Regions from separate parts of the Homo sapiens genome. Here all the other regions are linked to region 6. Evidence: promoter capture Hi-C in 16 types of primary human blood cells and fetal thymus (Javierre and others, 2016). All regions are on one chromosome and are shown on one strand. Each heading gives the region's core, a stretch centred on a gene start or on the middle of the fragment in contact. The rest is flanking DNA. Distances are from core to core; before and after follow the strand shown. Region 1 has its middle 32 kb from the start of COL19A1. Region 2 has its middle 12 kb from the start of MIR30C2. Region 3 has its middle 58 kb from the start of B3GAT2. Region 4 overlaps LMBRD1 (LMBR1 domain containing 1). Region 5 overlaps OGFRL1 (opioid growth factor receptor like 1). Region 6 holds the start of FAM135A (family with sequence similarity 135 member A).

Evidence for each region. The method cuts DNA at HindIII sites, captures the fragments that hold promoters and counts their contacts. A CHiCAGO score of 5 or more calls a contact.
Region 1: a fragment that was not itself captured here is called in contact with the fragment with the promoter of FAM135A in region 6 in 1 of 17 cell types (non-activated CD4 T cells); the score reaches 5.6 in non-activated CD4 T cells.
Region 2: a contact is called between a fragment that was not itself captured here and the fragment with the promoter of FAM135A in region 6, in 1 of 17 cell types (total B cells). The highest score is 8.4, in total B cells.
Region 3: a fragment that was not itself captured here is called in contact with the fragment with the promoter of FAM135A in region 6 in 1 of 17 cell types (M2 macrophages); the score reaches 5.3 in M2 macrophages.
Region 4: a contact is called between a fragment that was not itself captured here and the fragment with the promoter of FAM135A in region 6, in 1 of 17 cell types (activated CD4 T cells). The highest score is 5.8, in activated CD4 T cells.
Region 5: a fragment that was not itself captured here is called in contact with the fragment with the promoter of FAM135A in region 6 in 1 of 17 cell types (fetal thymus); the score reaches 5.4 in fetal thymus.

Annotation. Positions count from the first base shown.
Region 1 is chr6:69,833,007-69,835,706 of GRCh38, reverse strand. No RefSeq gene overlaps it. Among named protein-coding and RNA genes, the nearest start is that of COL19A1, 32 kb to the left of the region's middle. The HindIII fragment of the contact is 1,249 bases long and covers 777-2,025 here.
Region 2 is chr6:71,363,998-71,366,697 of GRCh38, reverse strand. No RefSeq gene overlaps it. Among named protein-coding and RNA genes, the nearest start is that of MIR30C2, 12 kb to the left of the region's middle. The HindIII fragment of the contact is 154 bases long and covers 1,219-1,372 here.
Region 3 is chr6:71,013,951-71,016,650 of GRCh38, reverse strand. No RefSeq gene overlaps it. Among named protein-coding and RNA genes, the nearest start is that of B3GAT2, 58 kb to the right of the region's middle. The HindIII fragment of the contact is 922 bases long and covers 944-1,865 here.
Region 4 is chr6:69,785,105-69,787,804 of GRCh38, reverse strand. The region is part of intron 2 of LMBRD1 (LMBR1 domain containing 1); the gene reads left to right. Among named protein-coding and RNA genes, the nearest start is that of LMBRD1, 11 kb to the left of the region's middle. The HindIII fragment of the contact is 6,423 bases long and covers 1-2,700 here.
Region 5 is chr6:71,294,177-71,296,876 of GRCh38, reverse strand. OGFRL1 (opioid growth factor receptor like 1) reads right to left here. Exons shown (of 7, transcript NM_024576.5): 4 at 482-560; 5 at 316-382; 6 at 60-205. The region is part of intron 3 of LOC124901339 (a long non-coding RNA gene); the gene reads left to right. Among named protein-coding and RNA genes, the nearest start is that of OGFRL1, 6.7 kb to the right of the region's middle. The HindIII fragment of the contact is 3,243 bases long and covers 1-2,700 here.
Region 6 is chr6:70,412,197-70,414,896 of GRCh38, reverse strand. It overlaps FAM135A (family with sequence similarity 135 member A), which reads right to left and starts at 1,389. Exons shown (of 22, transcript NM_001162529.3): 1 at 1,195-1,389. FAM135A-AS1 (FAM135A antisense RNA 1) reads left to right here and starts at 939. Exons shown (of 2, transcript NR_147708.1): 1 at 939-1,060; 2 at 1,835-2,069. RefSeq lists silencers at 873-1,022, 1,363-1,582. The HindIII fragment of the contact is 2,225 bases long and covers 135-2,359 here.

The DNA.
Region 1 (2,700 bases), core at 152-2,651, 580 kb after region 6:
AGAGTTTCTTATGGAAAATAAATCATTCATAGGTAAATATGAAATATAAAACAGATCATAATAGCAAAGGTTTATGTACATTTAAACACAATGATGTCAGTGGTTTCATTATGAACTTCGTTCTCTGGTGCTTATGAATCAGCAGCATAAATTCGCAGTAAGTGTAATCTTGGTGTATAATGAACTCCAGTGTATTTTAGAAACAATCTAATTTTAATAAAATCAGTATTTTATAAAAAGAACAAGATTCCAGTTAACAGTTTTAATACCAAAAGTATCTTTTAGTATTGAATGGAAAATATTTTAAAACAAAATGTTTTTGCTATCTGCATTTTTTCACGGCTTAAAGATTACATTATACATTTCAGCTAATCATTTGTACTGCCCTTTTTGGTCAATTTAAATATTCCTCCAGTTGAGTTTATTGTGCATGTGTAACTATTTAGAAATAATTAAAAGAAAGGAAATAAAATTTTACAAGGGTTTTTAAAAGAATGAGAACACAGATTGATTTAGTTAACTGGAATTTTGTTCATAAAAAGACATCCTTCATGCTTGACAACTCACCATAGTATTCATGTTATATTCCTACATAACCTTTAAAAATATTTATTAGCTACAAAAAGAGTAATCACTTTTGATTATTCTGACAAAAATCTTTGGAAGTTTCACATTGAAAAATGTCATCAATGCTTCAAAATTATAATACTTTAAATTTATGTAGGACAGTAGTATCTCAAAACACTGTTTAATATATCACCTATTATCAACAAGCTTTATGTAAGAGGCCACTTTAAGTGCTTTAACCTATATTTTTCTATTCCTTAATTGTTCTACCTATACTTAATTAAACTTCTGGTTTATTTTTTTCTTCTTGCCGTGTAGTTGAAAATGTGTTTATTACTCTAGGAAAATATTTAACTACCCAATGCCAGGATTCAGTGGCTACTGGGAGCAGCGAAGTCTTAGTATTCAGGCCATTTGACACTTCTCAAGAGCTAAAACATAATTAGGCAATACTGAACCTGATGAAGGGCAAAATAAAGCATCCTTCAGTATAGCCACTTCTACAACACCCTGAAGAATTAGTCTCATCCCAACTGACCCAACCATACACTGTTCTGAAGAGGATTCAACACATTTATCAGTTGTTCTTAAATAATCCCCTTAGTCCAGTTCCAACCTTTCAACATTGTATCATATTGTTAGTTTCTATAGAAATTTTATTTCCAATCTTTTCAAAAATATTGCTTAGGACTGTAATCCAAAGCAAGCATTACTGAGCCACTTCTGGGTAAAAAGTGCACCTATCAGACAATAAGAAAGCAAATTTAGGGGAGCAAGAGGAAAATTGTCAAATCACTGGCTTTCCAGATAAGACAACTCTGAGTTTTAGTAAGGTACAAAATGTGGAATGATCACCTCTGTCAAAATTCAACTAGAATGTTTTGGACATTTGAATAAAATTGGCAGATTTAATTATGCTTTTTATTTTCAAATTGGTTTTTGGGACTCAATGCAAACATTTGAAATGTCAAGGATTTAAGCTATTTGTTAACCAATTTACAAATAGGAGCATATATATCTTACTTTGCAAAGTTACCTAATATGTTTTTTTAAAAAGGTAATTAATTTGTAAATATATATTCTTTTCTCCAAAACAAAATTGCTCTTATCTTATGGTTTTCTACAATACAGAAACAGTCTCTGAATATATAACTGCCTAAAGGTTTCTACTTTTTTATTTTTACTCATCTAGATAAAAAATTCAAAACTAATATATGAACTATAGTGCTCCTGTGCGGTGAATACTCCAAAAGGGCAAATTTCTTAGAATCATTAGAAATACAAAAGTTAAAGAGAAAAGCAAATAAAAGTTGAGGGGGATCGAATCTTTATGGAATTACTGCAGCAGTTGGTAGATAAGACAATTAGGCCACATTGATAGAGAAACAAATGCACAAACACATGGAACTTTGATCAATCATCTAAAGTTGTTTCTCTTGAGATCATGATGAATAAGCTTACAATATCTGATGAGAAAGAATCCTAAAACAGGTACAATCATCCCTTGGTATCTATGGGAGATTAGTTCCAGGGCCTCCCTCAGATACCAAAATCTGAGGACGCTCAAGTCCCTGAAATAAAATGGGCTACTATTTGCATATCGCTTATGCACATTCTCCTGTATACTTTAAATCTCCCATAGATTACTTATAATAGCTGATACAGTGTAAATGCTATGTGAGTAGTTGTTAGACTGTGTTCCTTAGGGAATAATGGCAAGAAAAAAAGTCAGTATAAGTTCAGTACAGATGCAAATATTTTGATCCATCATTGGTTAATTCCAAGGACATGGATCCCATGAATACAGAGGGCCAATTATACTATGTTTTGGGAACTACTCTTTTTTTATATAATTTTTTAAATTAAAAAAAATAAAGACAAGGTCTCACTATGTTTCCCAGGCTGGTCTTGAACTCCTGTGCTCAAGCGATCCACCTGCCTAGGCCTCCCAAAGTGTTGGGATTACAGGCGTGATCCACCTTGCCTGGCCAAGGAACTTCTCTTTTTTTGTCTTGTTTTTCTTAAGTTGGTTTTGTCTCTGGTTATTGCTAGAGGGAATTTGTCTCTAATTCTAAATTTCTCTGGGAAAAGCAACTTTCTATTAGTAAAAATGTTAATGAATTACCAATGATA
Region 2 (2,700 bases), core at 46-2,545, 950 kb before region 6:
GGTCTGGCATCTCATTGTCTGGATGTGGTGATCTGGTGAGTTTCAGTTCTTTAATTTTCTTTTTCTTTTGAGAGGTCTGAATGTGGTTTCCTGAGGAAGGAACTCTGATAAAACAAATGTAAGTTTCAAATTTTAAAACCAGATGGGCAATTTCTATGTTTATCCAAAAAAAACTGTCTAGGGGACTATTGGGTCGGTTTCATATATATATAAAATCACTTTATGTACACAACACCAAATTATCCGGGTTCATATGTTTAAATTTAGAATTGTGGGGATTTCCCAATCTACCAGCTGAGTATGCTCAACAGGTTAGCTGGATAGCATTGACTATCATGACAGTGAACAACAGAGAATCACATGCAACTCTGAGTCTTTCCTGAGGAGTATCTTCCTGAAACTAAATGAATAGAAGATTCTGAGAACCTTGCTTTTTCCATTATTTGATTATGGAATGACCTATGGGGCAATACATGTTCATGTAATATGGAAAAAACAAAAAGAAGGCTTTAACCGCTTAATTAGCAGGCCTAATTTTTTAGAGTTGGGATTCTCTCTTTCTTTTACTTGCTGAAAATTGACTGTTTGGTTACTTTCACTTTATAAGTTTACTTTATTCATTTAATCACAAAATTCCTAAGCATTCAGTGACTCATAAAGTAGATTATTTGTTTATAATCCTGCCTCATTCTAGAAATGACTAAAGGCAATAAAGTTATGTTTAACCTTGGCAAATATTGGTTAAATGATACTAAGCTAACTTTTTTGGGATGAACTATACAGTGAATAGATTATGTAGGATTGGGATGTTTTTATTTTAATTTAGAAATAATTATAGATTTATAGGAAGTTGCAAAAATTGTTTGGAGAGATCCTATGTACCTTTCACCCAGGTTCCCCCAGTGGTCACATTTTACAACATTTGCTACAGCACAGTAGCAAGACCAGGAAACTGACATTGGTACAATTGTGTGTGTGTGTGTGTGTGTGTGTGTGTGTGTGTGTGTAGTTCTACACCATGTTATTACATGCATAGATTCTTGTAACCACCACTGCAGTTAATATACAAATTAGTATACAGATTACTTTTGCTATATCATTTTTTTCTAAAATCTAAAGACATGAAACTTTTTTGAATCTTAAAGGGATGAAGCCCTTCTTGGTGACTTGAACAGCATCATCATTTTCTGTTGGTAATAACAACTAGCAAATAAAGCTTAGATGAAACTTACACTCCTGTGTAAAGTGTAGCTCTTCCAGTAGGTCCTGTGTTTAGTCTAATATCTACTTAATTACAGTAAGTGTTCAGGCTTTTTGTTGTTCTATTTGTTTTGCGAGCAGGGATTTGATATAAATCTAAATACGACAAGCTTTCGTTAAAAAAAATATTGACCTTCCATTTAGAACAATGTGGTCTTTCACTGTATTGAGCTTATGTGGATGTATATTACTGTAGAAGAATTTTACAGGAGATAAATTCCTATGAAATATTCTCATTGCTATCTTAATTAGAAATAATCTTTTTATGCCCCCACTGTAGGTGGTAAGTCCCCCATGTTCAGTGAATATACTTGCGATTAGGTCATAGTCTATTATTAGGAACATACAGGCAGCCAACTGGCAAATGGATTGTTATCCTGCCTAAGGAGAAGAGAAAAAAATTAAGGTAAAATTAAAATGCCAATACATGCTGAGAAAGAGCTAATAGAAAGCATGTGACATTATGTACACTGGTGATACTCAAATGAAACAATGGAACCTATTAAAAGGTACCTATGTGGATTTTATTCTTTGAGAAATGGACTAGGGTAGGGGGTAGAAAGGCAGGGAAAGAATGAAGACAGTGTATTGAAAGAGAAGATTGTTTGACCCATTTATCTGAAATAAAAATCCTAAGTTTTATAAGATCCTCAAATATTTGGCTACATTTTCAGGTAGATGTGCATGCATAAATGTTAAATGGCTAAAAGAAAATGGGTTATAGTCTACCAATAGTGTGTCACATAGCTTTAAAAGTACTGCTTTAAAAATCATCAATTTAGAGGGAGGATTTGGGTGGCAAGCAACAGGACTCTGCTTTCAATCCTGTCCTACACCACATTTTAATTTTTATTAAAATGAAAACATTGTTGGAATTATGATTTATTTTTTAAAAGAAGCAAACAGTGTTACAGTAGATGAATCAAGGTCCAAGTGAAATCTCAGCAGCCTGAAAGGATGGGCAGGGTTGGATACAAAGAAATTGAATTGGTATAAATATGGAAGTCCAGCTCCTGGAGTCAGACAGCTAATTGCACAAGGACTTCATGGGGGACATGTGACTTACCATCACATGTGGAAAAAGACTTGTGAATTTTCCTAACCACTACCTATGTGGCCCACAGAGTGACATGATGTTCCAAAAAACGAATACAACCTGTATGCGATCGTAGACACATACACCACACCCCAAAACATGCTACACAGGATATAATTTTCAAAGTAGGACAACAAACTGCCTACTTTATTTTAAGTTGGCATTTTCCAAGTAGTTCTGTGTTCATTACTGCACAATAGAGGTATAAGTAAAGCAGGGCATGTCTAAAACAATGTGGCCATTTGATGAAGGGCACTCGAAAATGTATGATTGAGCCAATCACAGATACTGAGGAAACTTGAGGCCAGGATTTTGAGGCTGCAGTGTGCTACGATTGTGCCTGT
Region 3 (2,700 bases), core at 155-2,654, 600 kb before region 6:
GGTGTCAGAAAGAACATTGACATTATCAACCCCATAAGTAAGATATTATTATTACAGAAGATAAAACTTAGATTGAGGTTTAATAACCTGCCCAAGGTTAACCACCTAATAACTGACAGAGGCAATATTCTGTCTCGAATCTGTCTAACTCCACAGCCAATAGTTTCAACCACGTGGGCCGAAAATGCCCTAGCACCTTGCTACTCAGTATGGTCCACAGACCAGCAGCACAGAGGCATCACTTGAGAGCTTGATTGAAATGCAGAATCTCAGGCCCCACTGGCAAATCAGAATCTGCATTTTAACTAGATTTCCAGGTGATTCCGTGCACGTTAAAATTGAGATACACTGCTGTCTCTGACCTGCCCTCTAACTCCCTGCCATTGAGAATCTCCTGGGCCTCTTAACACATCTTCATTATGTTTCTATGAAATTTTCTGCTCAGCCCTTCTGCTAGCCAAAGGGCATGAACAAGGGGGTAAAGATACCTGATTGATGAGCGTCAGAGAAAAGAGGTAGGTAATAAAGAAGAAGGGAAAGATGTTGAAGCTTTCTCTGAATGTTTTAACTGGAAATAATCTCGCTCATCCACATCACTCACTTAATATGTACTTAAAGTCTAATCTTCTTATCATTTCAAGTGTCCTTGTTTCATCTCTCTAATCATGTTTTAAGCACATTATACATAGGATGTGTATGAGTAGTGGATAGAATAATTTTTTATGTAGCCCTGACTACATGAACTCCCAATTTCAATTGGCTATGTTGAAATAATAAGAAAAAAAAATGTGAGTCCATCTTTTCATGGCTTAACATTTAAAGGATGAATATAAACCTTAATTCCATCACTAGTTCATTAGTTCAATTCTGGCTTAACACAGGTGCTGCCAACCTGTCCCCATTTTTCTTTTCTTTTTTTTTTTTTTAAACAACACTTCAAGCTTATTCTTTCCAAAATCAATTTAACTATTTTCCTCCAAAAATGACTTTTTATCTTATAGTATCTCAACTTACACTAAGACTTTCCATTCAGGCACCCCAGCATTACATCATGGACCTCAGTTCCTCTTTCTCTGTCCCTAATTACAATTGATCCTACCTCCTAAATCTCTTTCTCATTTGTTTTTGTGTGTTCATTCCTACCTCCATCAGCTCAGTTAAAGCCCCTAATATCTATCACCTGGACCATTGAAACAGCTTCCTAATTGCTTTTCCTGCCTCTGGTTCTCCTCTCTTCAAATGGTAAACAATTTCCTGTCTAGGAAACAAATCTGATCATGTCACTCTTCTGAAAAACCTCTAATGGTTCCACATTGTTCATGGGGCAATGTCCTGACTCTTAACCCAGCACTCAAGGCCCTTGAGAAATGCCCTGGCCTGCAATTTGGGCCTCATCTCCCTGCTCTTCCCCGTGTGCCTGGAACTTTAGTGTCCCTGAATGGCTCACTCATTCCCGGATGTATCTTCTCATGCCGTTCTCTGCCTGGCATGCTCATGCCCCCTCTCCATTACCAAACTCTTAATATTTATTACCAGTCCTAGCAGAGTTGTCACTCCTCCTTGAAGCCTTCCCTACCCACCACCACCCCCCTCTAAAATAGTGGTAGACAAACCATCAGTATCACCTGGAGCTTGTTAGAAATGCAAATTCTCAGAACCCACCGAAGACCTACTGAAGCCAAACCTCTGGGCGTGGTCACAGCAATCGGTAGTTTAACAAACCCTGCAGGTGATTCTAATGCACGTTTGTGTTTGAGAACTACTGCTCTAAAGACTATTTATCAGCTATTTCTCTTCATACTAATGGTAATTACCCAAGTTTCTTCTCCATTACTTAAGAAGAAGTATCTCACATGCAGGAAGCTTGTCTTACTCATCTTAGTTACTTCAGTGTCTGAAACATAGAAGTCTATCAATCGCTCTGCAAATCAAATCCGAAATAAATAAGTTGGGGAAGGGGCTGTGATGGGGAGATATTGGTCAAAGAATACAAAATTTCAGTTGGGATGAATAAATTCTGGAGATCTATTGTACAGTATGGTGACTATAAACAATAATAACATATACTTTTAAAAATATTATATACTTGAAAACTGCTGAGAGATTATCTTAAATGTTCTCACCACAAAACATAACTCCGTGAGATAATATATATGTGAATTAGCTTGATCAATCATTTCACAACATACACATATTTCAAAACATTACATTGTACATTGTAAATATATACAAGTTTTATTTGTCAATTATACCTCACTAAAGCTGGGAAATTTTTTAAATAAATTTTTTACCTAAAATTGAAGAACTCCTGTTATCATACTCCTGGCTTTTTACAGTCCTATCTATAACATTAAAATTTTTTAAACTATAGTTTTTCCTCATGTCCCTTCCCTAACTTGCCAGATTCTCCAGATGTCAATCCTTCCAGAGTTGGATGGTTCTTGTCCCCACAGAACAGAGTGTGAAATCCCAATAATCAACCCAGCATGGCAGGCAGCCTCCAACACCAGTTTTTCTTCCTTTGACAATGGACCCTGTGCAGCAAGCTTTTAGGAACCAGCTTTAGTCCAAGTGCCTGAAGCACTTTATACTCATTCATCTGAAATTGCTGGTTATAGGACAATTTCACAGACACAGACACACACACACACACACACACACACACCCCTTGTTGAAGGCCCAAGTAAATATTTAGCATTA
Region 4 (2,700 bases), core at 47-2,546, 630 kb after region 6:
GTTAAAACTTTTCCCTCTACTTTTTTAAAACTTTGTTTCATTATTAGGATATTAGTTATTCATCAGTTGTTGGTTCTTGTTTTTTTCTACTTTTCTTTTTTTGAGACGGAGTTTCACTGCAACCTCCGCCTCCTGGGTTCAAGCGATTCTTCTGCCAGAGCTTCCTGAGTATCTGGGATTACAGATGCACACCGCCATGCCCAGCCAATTTTTTGTATTTTTAGTAGAGATGGGGTTTCACCATGTTGGCCAGGCTGGTCTTGAACTCCTGATCTCAGGTGATCCACCCGTCTTGGCCTCCCAAAGTGCTGGGATTACAGCCATGAGCCCCTGTGACTGGCCTTTCCTACTTTTCATTATTAAGTTGTCTCTAGTTCTGTTTGCTTTTAACTTAGATAATGTATCAGATTTTTCTTGGTAGTTTTTTTGATACCTTGAAACATTCTGTGTGTCTGTATTTTCCCTTCTCATTTTGGGCGGCTCGGTGAGGATTAGTGAAATTCATGAGTTTTTATTTGAAACTGGACTATTTGCTGACTCTCAAAAGTAGTACTGAAAAAATTTTTGAAAACATTTTCCTGATAAACTCTAGACAGTAGTTTTTCCTAAAGTTATTACTGAATTCAGGTGCCTAGTGAAAGATAAGTTTAAGTATTTAAGAATTAATTCTTCAAACTTCATGCCACGATTGTAAATGTAGTCAGAGTAAAAAGGATGCCAACGTGGTTTTGGTCTATTCCAACCTTGTTTGTAAAGATGAATGTACAAGTTGACATTGTTTTCCATGATGAATGCTAATGTATAATAATATTTACAGTGTGCATTTGAAATTCCTAAATGAATATATACATTCTCTAACTTTCTCTACTTCCACCTCAAATATTTTGAAGCCTCTCTCTAATTATGGACTTGTCTTCTAAGGTATAATTATTTGGAAACTCTACATATTAATGATTGCTAACATTTTTCTTAAAAACAGAAGGTGCCCAGGCTTTTCTGTGAGCAGGCAGTCATTGCTAGTTTCTTTATTTTTGTTTTAGTTACCCTTCTAGCTTTCTCTGCCTTCTTATGGCAGGGGTATATTATAATGCCTGAGTTGTTTCTGTTGACCTTTCTTTCAGCATATGGCATTATTAATAATTTTAGCTAGATAATTTGTTTCTAGCTTCTTTTCTAAAGTAATTAACTTTTTAGATAACAGAAGAGAACCTTTTAGAGTACAGCTGGAAGTGCTGTCTTTAACAGTCTTTGATAGTTGGCCAGTAACATTGGATGGGGATATACATGAAATATACTGATCCAATAGTAAAAAAAAAAAGAAATCGACACTAATATGAATAAATATTCTTTCTTTTACACAACATGTAAAAATAAAAAAATTAGTTAATATTAAGGTATGTCATGAAAACATTTAATGTTTTGGTGTTTGTTCATATCTTACTCCTGTTCCCTAATTATGAATATCTTTATGGACTGTTATTAGATGTCTGGGCTAAACTCTACTGCTCCCTCATTCCTATTTTCAAATGGTGGGAACTGTATCTTAGAACTTTGTGCTCTTTATTGAACCTTAAATATGTTTATTTACTTAATATTTACTAAATATATAGTATGTGCCTGACAATTGTAGGTACTGGAGATTAATCATTAAGGCAAATGAGGTTGCTTTTCTCATGGAGCTTAGTCTGCAAGGCCAGATCAATAATCAACAAATAAGATAAGGTAACTTTATAGTGATAAATTCTATGAGGAAATAGATTGATATGAGAGTCTAGTCAGGTTATGAGTGTTTTGGAGAGGGGGATAGGAAGGCAAAACTGCTGAGGTTTCTTGCCATGATACCTGGATGAGGAGCCAATCTAGTAAAGAGCCAGAGGGAGAGAGCCTTTAGGGAGAAGCAGCAGCAAATATAGAGGCCTTTAGGCCAGGATGAACTTGGCTTATTTGGCTGACATGTATTGTTGAGGGTTTTGCTTTGGTAAAAGCTGAGATCCAGAATAAGGCAGGAGCCAGACTGTTCATGACTTTTAAGTCATATTAATAAGTTTAGATTTTCTCCTAACTGCAATATGAAGTTAATGAAGGTAAAAGATAAAGGTGACTTGGGCTAGAGTGGTGCTAGTAGAGAAAAATGATTAAAATTGGCATGTATTTTAGAGGTAGAGCTGCTGGGATCTGCTGATAGATTAGATATAGGGGGACAGGTGAAAGAAAAAGAAAATTGGAGCACTGATGCCTAGGTTTTTGTATACCTTAGAGAAATAGGGAAACTTAGAGGAATAAGAGGGCATGTGCATGGGCAAGTGAGGGGGTGTAGAGAAAAGAGTTATAGTTCGGACAGGCTACCTTTAAAGTGTGTACTGTACTATCTATCCAGGTGGAGGTGTTAAGTAGGGAGTTGAAGCTCTGTGAAGAGCTTAGGGCTGGAGAGAAGTATTTGGGAAGCAACATATGGATGATATCTACAGTTATGGACTGACTAGCAGCTGGGAAGACTGAGTAGTCAGAGAAGCCTTGACACTGGACCGAGGACTGGAGTTCTCTATCGTGTAGAAGGTCAGCTGAAGGGGAGAATCTGCAACCTGAGAGATAAGAAAAACAGAAGAGGGAGGCTTTATGGAAATCAGAATAATGTGTTTCAGGAAGAAAGAATGATAGCTTTTTTCAGTGGTGTTGAGAGGTGAAGTGAATGGGGTAGAG
Region 5 (2,700 bases), core at 73-2,572, 880 kb before region 6:
CTCTGACCAAGGGAAAATAACTGTGCTGGCCCCTGATTTATCACAGGGGCTTTACTTACTCATTCAGATGCTGAAATCTTTCCTGCCAGTTAACAGCCCGAGCAACATTTCCAGTTTTATCAGTCAGTTTTATTCCAAAAAATTCTAGCATCATTTTATAAGCCAGGAGGAATCTTCTAATTGCTTCTTTTGTTTTTTTGAATTCCTAATATAAAAAATGAAAAAAGTCACCTGAAATGATTCAGTAGCTACAAGGACAGTGAAATAGCAATATTATTTGGCCACCCTGTATAAAATGAAATGAGCTTGCATTACCTCAATTTCATATGTAGTTAGTTCTTTGGCATAGAAGTTCAAGCCTTGTTCTCTCAGGGGGAAAAGCCTATTTATTTTAAAAAAATAAAATTTTTCTATTAACGTTGTCTGGAAAACATACATGATTAAATAGGACATGGTTCAAGATAGATAATATGTAACTGACCATTGAATGTAAGTGTGGTTGTGCTCCAGTTTTTCATAATCTCCTTTCCATTTACTTAGAACTTCTTCAATGTAAACACCTAAATAGTAAATATTTAAAAATGAACCAGACATTTCAAACATTGTGAAGGCATTTTAAGATTCGAATCACTTGAGTTTTATATGAAAACTTGTTTAAATTTAATAATAGCACACAAGAATAGTGCTTTTAAAAAGATGAATACCCTATGCCCATATATTCGGTTATGTGATAAATCTAATTAAAAAAAATTAATAGCACCTCAAATTGCACAAGGCTTTGTTGGACAATGTACTCTAAAGCAGAGCTTGGCAAACTGTGGCCTGCCAGCTGTTTTTTAAATAAAGTTTTATTGGAATATAGCTATGCACATTCATTTATGTACTGTCTATGGCAGTTTTTGTACTACAGTAGCAGAGCTGTGTAGTTGCAATACAGACCCACTGTCCCCCAAAGCCCAAAATATTTACTATTTGCCCCTGTATAGAAAGTTTGCCAATCCCAGTCCTAGGAGTTATATAGTTCTTTAAATGCTAAATTGGATCAAAATGAATTGCATCCTAGGGAAAAAGAAAGAAAGGGGAGTAGAAATAGAAGAAAAGAAATGAGAAGGAGAAAACAAAGGAGAAGGAAAACGAGAAAAGAAAAATGTAGGAAAAAGTTGTAAGTGCTTACTACATGCTGTGCCCATATTACACAGAGCGCACATTTTCCAGCTTAGTCTTCACAGAATGCTGCCAGTGTTATGATCCTCATTTTAACAATGAAGAAACTGGGAGATTTGTTCAAAGTTACACACTAGTAAAAAAGTAAATCTTGAGTGCAACATAGGTCTTTCTGGTTCCAAGAAGTAAGCCCTTTTCACCCTGTCCACTTTTCCTCTACAAGAACTTACAAAAACAAAATCCTCCTGTTCCTAAGTCTGTCAAGGTCCTTACAATTGACTAGCCATTTAGTCAATGTTGTAGAAAATAAAATAGCAATATAATATTTCTCCGAACATAACTCATCTCATTCTTGTTTCCTCCAGAGATCACCAGTTTGTAGTAGAGGCCCACTCTCGGAAGGTTTGGTAAAAAGTTGTTTTGAATCATAATGTTGGCTTTATTGGCATGTTGAAACCATTTACCTCTGTAATTTTCCATTTGTTTTCCTTTCCAACTACCACTCCTCCTGCCTGATAAATAAATACCATTGCAAGATTATGCTTACTGGCAAGTAGTGTGTGTGTGCGTGTGTGCGTGTGTGTGTATACTAGGGAGGAAAGTGAGTTGATATAATTTGTATAATAAACTAGGATAAACATTTTATCTGACCTTAGCTAAAACTTCTGACCCCCACCAATCATAAGATTTCAAAATAAACTTTGTAGTAAAGATTACCAAAAATTCAATATATTGCTTGAAATTACTTTTTAAATTAATATTTACAAAATAAATTCCCTAGTAGAAAAAAATAGAGTTAAATACTATCATAGCTTTATGTTTAATATTTTTAATATGTGAAGGCATTCCTTTAGGAAAATTGTATGAAATTCAAATCAGACTCAAATTAACAATCTATCATTGCATTTCTTCAAAATATTTTTCTACCCCAAGTCCTAACAAAATGAATAATTTGGCCAATATTTTTCCATTAGTAAATAAAGCAGCACATTTCTATCATTAGTAAATATAACTGTGCAATTTTATCCAGAGGTTTCATTCCACATCACAGCAGACTTTCAGGACACCAGAAAGTTAAAGACAAGTAGATCTGGCCACGTCAACGATGTTCTCAAATATTAACTCCCAACTGGTAGGTCTGTTGGTACACAGTACTGGGACTCCCTCCTCCCAAACTCAATCCAGGCTTTAGACCTCTTGCCTCGAGTTAGTTCACCAAAGAATGCAAGGTCCTGCCACTTGAAAGCCTTGCAGTCTATCTCCTTCCTTCTGTGACTCACACTGCTGTGGAACTGGCTCAGTTTCCACTGAGAGCAAATAGCAGAAGCCAGGGCAGTCTGACCACCTCACACAGAAAAGGGCTCTTGGGAGAGAAGCCAGCTTTCCTAGGGTGACCTGGATAAAATTAGGATGACCACCATGAACCACAGCATGATGCCTCAATGAAATATGCAATGTTGTGGTCATATTACCATAGCAGCTGCATCTTCTCACTATGGGTTTGGAAAATATCCTAGGAGGGCAATTGCAGAGTTG
Region 6 (2,700 bases), core at 140-2,639:
AAATTTCCAAATTTTAAGTGTATGTTTGTAGGTCAACCTTTAACAAGTCTTAACCCATTATAGTTTCATTTAGTCTGTACTCAAGTTGCTTTCCCAGGCATGCCAGGTAAACATAATTCTTAAAAATTAAAGCTTTAATCAGTAAGTGTAACCGATTTGTTGCTACTGTCACTCTTTTGATGATACTTCCACCAACCGGTAAAGAAAGAAGAAATGTTATTAAACTGGAAGATGAACTAGAAACATTGAGTGGATACCTAGCTTAGGCAGAAAGCAGCAAGGACTAGAAGGGTATGTCACAAAGAAGTCTTCAGAGATTTAATAAAAAGTAAAACAAATGGAATGAAGTTAAGAGGCTTGACTTATACAAATGGGGGGGGGAGGGTGGAAGAGTTTTGGAGGGGAAAAAATTAAGATTAGAGACTCACTGGGTGCAGAATGGAAAAGGACGTGAGGATAGGGGCCATTAGACAGAAAGCGATGAAGCAGGGTACCAGAGGAAAGAGAAGGCAGTGAGGGTTTCCGAAGCTAAGATGGGGCATGGAATGAACTCCAATGCAAAGCGATGCTAAAGCAAAACACAATCGGCAACTAACAAAAAGGGAACCAGGAGGAAGTACCGAAAGGAGGTGGATGAGAGGAAAATAAAACCAAGGAAGAAATTATGGAGGTAACAAGAGTGAGAAACCTGGTCGGCCAGGGTAAGGAGCTCCGGACAGGGAAGAGCCAGGCAAGGGATGGAAGCACAGAGATACGCTGCTTCCCAAGGAGGGACCACCCGGGCAAAAAGACACGTGGGAGGCGCGGGATGAAAAAGCAGAACCACGAAAGCGGGTAAAGGAGGGACAGAGCGACGAAGATGGAGCAGGGGTGAAGGGCAAACACGCTAGGCGCGAGGTTCAGGAAGAACGGGTCGAGGGACGCGCGCAGGGGCAGGGGCGGCCGCGGGCACCGGGAGAGCAGCGCGCCGCGGCCCCTCGCCTCCCTCAGAGCGCTCCGCACCGCCGTCCCCACCGACCTTCAACGGGGCCGGGGCCAGGCTCCGACCGCCAGCAGTCGGGTGAGGGGCCGCGGCGGGCGAACGGCGGACGAAGAGGAGGCCGCTTCCTTCCTGGCCCCTGGGCAAGAGGGACGGAGGGAGGGGTCGTGGGTGTCGGGAGCCGGGGGAGCCAGAGGGGACAGTAAGGGGGTTACCTCTCGCCCGGCTCGGCCTCTTCCCCCGCCTGTCGAACGGAGGAGCTCGTTGTCCAGCTGCAAGAAGACGGCCCGACCCGGGTCAGCACCATCCCGCCCCGGGCCCCCTCACATCGCCATCACAGCAACCGCAAACACCGCAACCGCGGAGCCGGTTCGTCACCGCGGCTCGGCTACTGGCCCAGCGCGGCCAGCGAGCATGCGCAGTCGCCCCAGTCCCGAGGGAGCCCGGGCCAGCCGGCTATACCTGCGATCAACAGGTCCCCGGCCGCACGGCCCCGCCCCCGGCCTCTCTCACCTCCTCCTCCCGCCTCTTCCCTCCCCTCTCTGAGGCTAGGCCCCGCCCCTTCAAGCTCCGTGCCCCGCCCTTCAGGAGCTTCAACTGCCCCTCCAGCTCCAGCGCCAACTGAGATTTCGAGAGATTTGTCCTCCCTACCAGGCTCCCGTTCCCAAGTTCCCGCGAGAACGGGAGGTTTGCGTCAATAAAAGGCGCGCGTCAAGAAAAGGGGCTCGCTTGTGGGTTTAAGGGATGGAACTTGGAGGTGGTTGAAGAGTAGTGAACAAGAAGAGGGCAAAAACACGGAGTTCGAGAACTTTAGCCGTTTTTCTCACAATGTTGTTTCTCCTTTTCTCTCTTTAGCTCCTCCGTGCAGTCCCGGGTAGAGAGCCCGGTCCCTGCGCTAGTCGATTTGTGCAGTAGGAAAGGAGGCTGCAGGGGATCTGCGCCGGGGCAGGACAGATGCCTTTCGGGACCCAGTGTTTGCATCTTGGGAGATGTGGGTGCTGATCTGGTTGTTTCTTGGTTTATGACGCCAAAAAGGGCGGGAGGGGGCTGATGAAGTGAAGCCTTTCGCTAATACATTCCGTTAACAGAAGCCCACGAAGGATCATTGATTTATTTCACTCTTCCCTGTTTCTGAACCTTATCTGGCAAAAACTTTTGTGGTGCATAAAGTTCAGTATGTTGCTAAAGCTGAGTTAATGAAAGGAAAATTTCAGCTGCGACTCTTGTTTTAAAAATGAATCTAGGATGGATAGTGGTGTTGGTTGCACAACAATGAATGGACATAATGCTACTGAACTGTGCACTTAAAAATGGTTAAAATGGTAAATTTTCTGTTATGTATATTTTACCACAATAAGAATGAATTAGAAGGGAAAAGCTTTGTGCATTCATTTGAAAGTAATGGTGAGGTCTTGTAACGTAGGCCATTTAGGGGACAGGTTTTGAATATATCTTTGTACCAGTTTTTTTTTTTTTCGAGTGTGTGTGTGAGACAGAGCATTGCTCCGTCGCCCAGGCGGGAGTGCAGTAATGTGATCTCGGCTCACTGCAACCTCTGCCTCCGGAGTTCAAGCAATTCTCCTGTCTCAGCCTCCCTAGTAGCTGGGACTACAGGCGCACACCACCACGCCTGACTACTTTTTGTATTGTTAGTAGAGACGTGGTCTCACCATATTGGTCAGGCTGGTTTCGAACTCCTGACCTTAGGTGATCCACCCGCC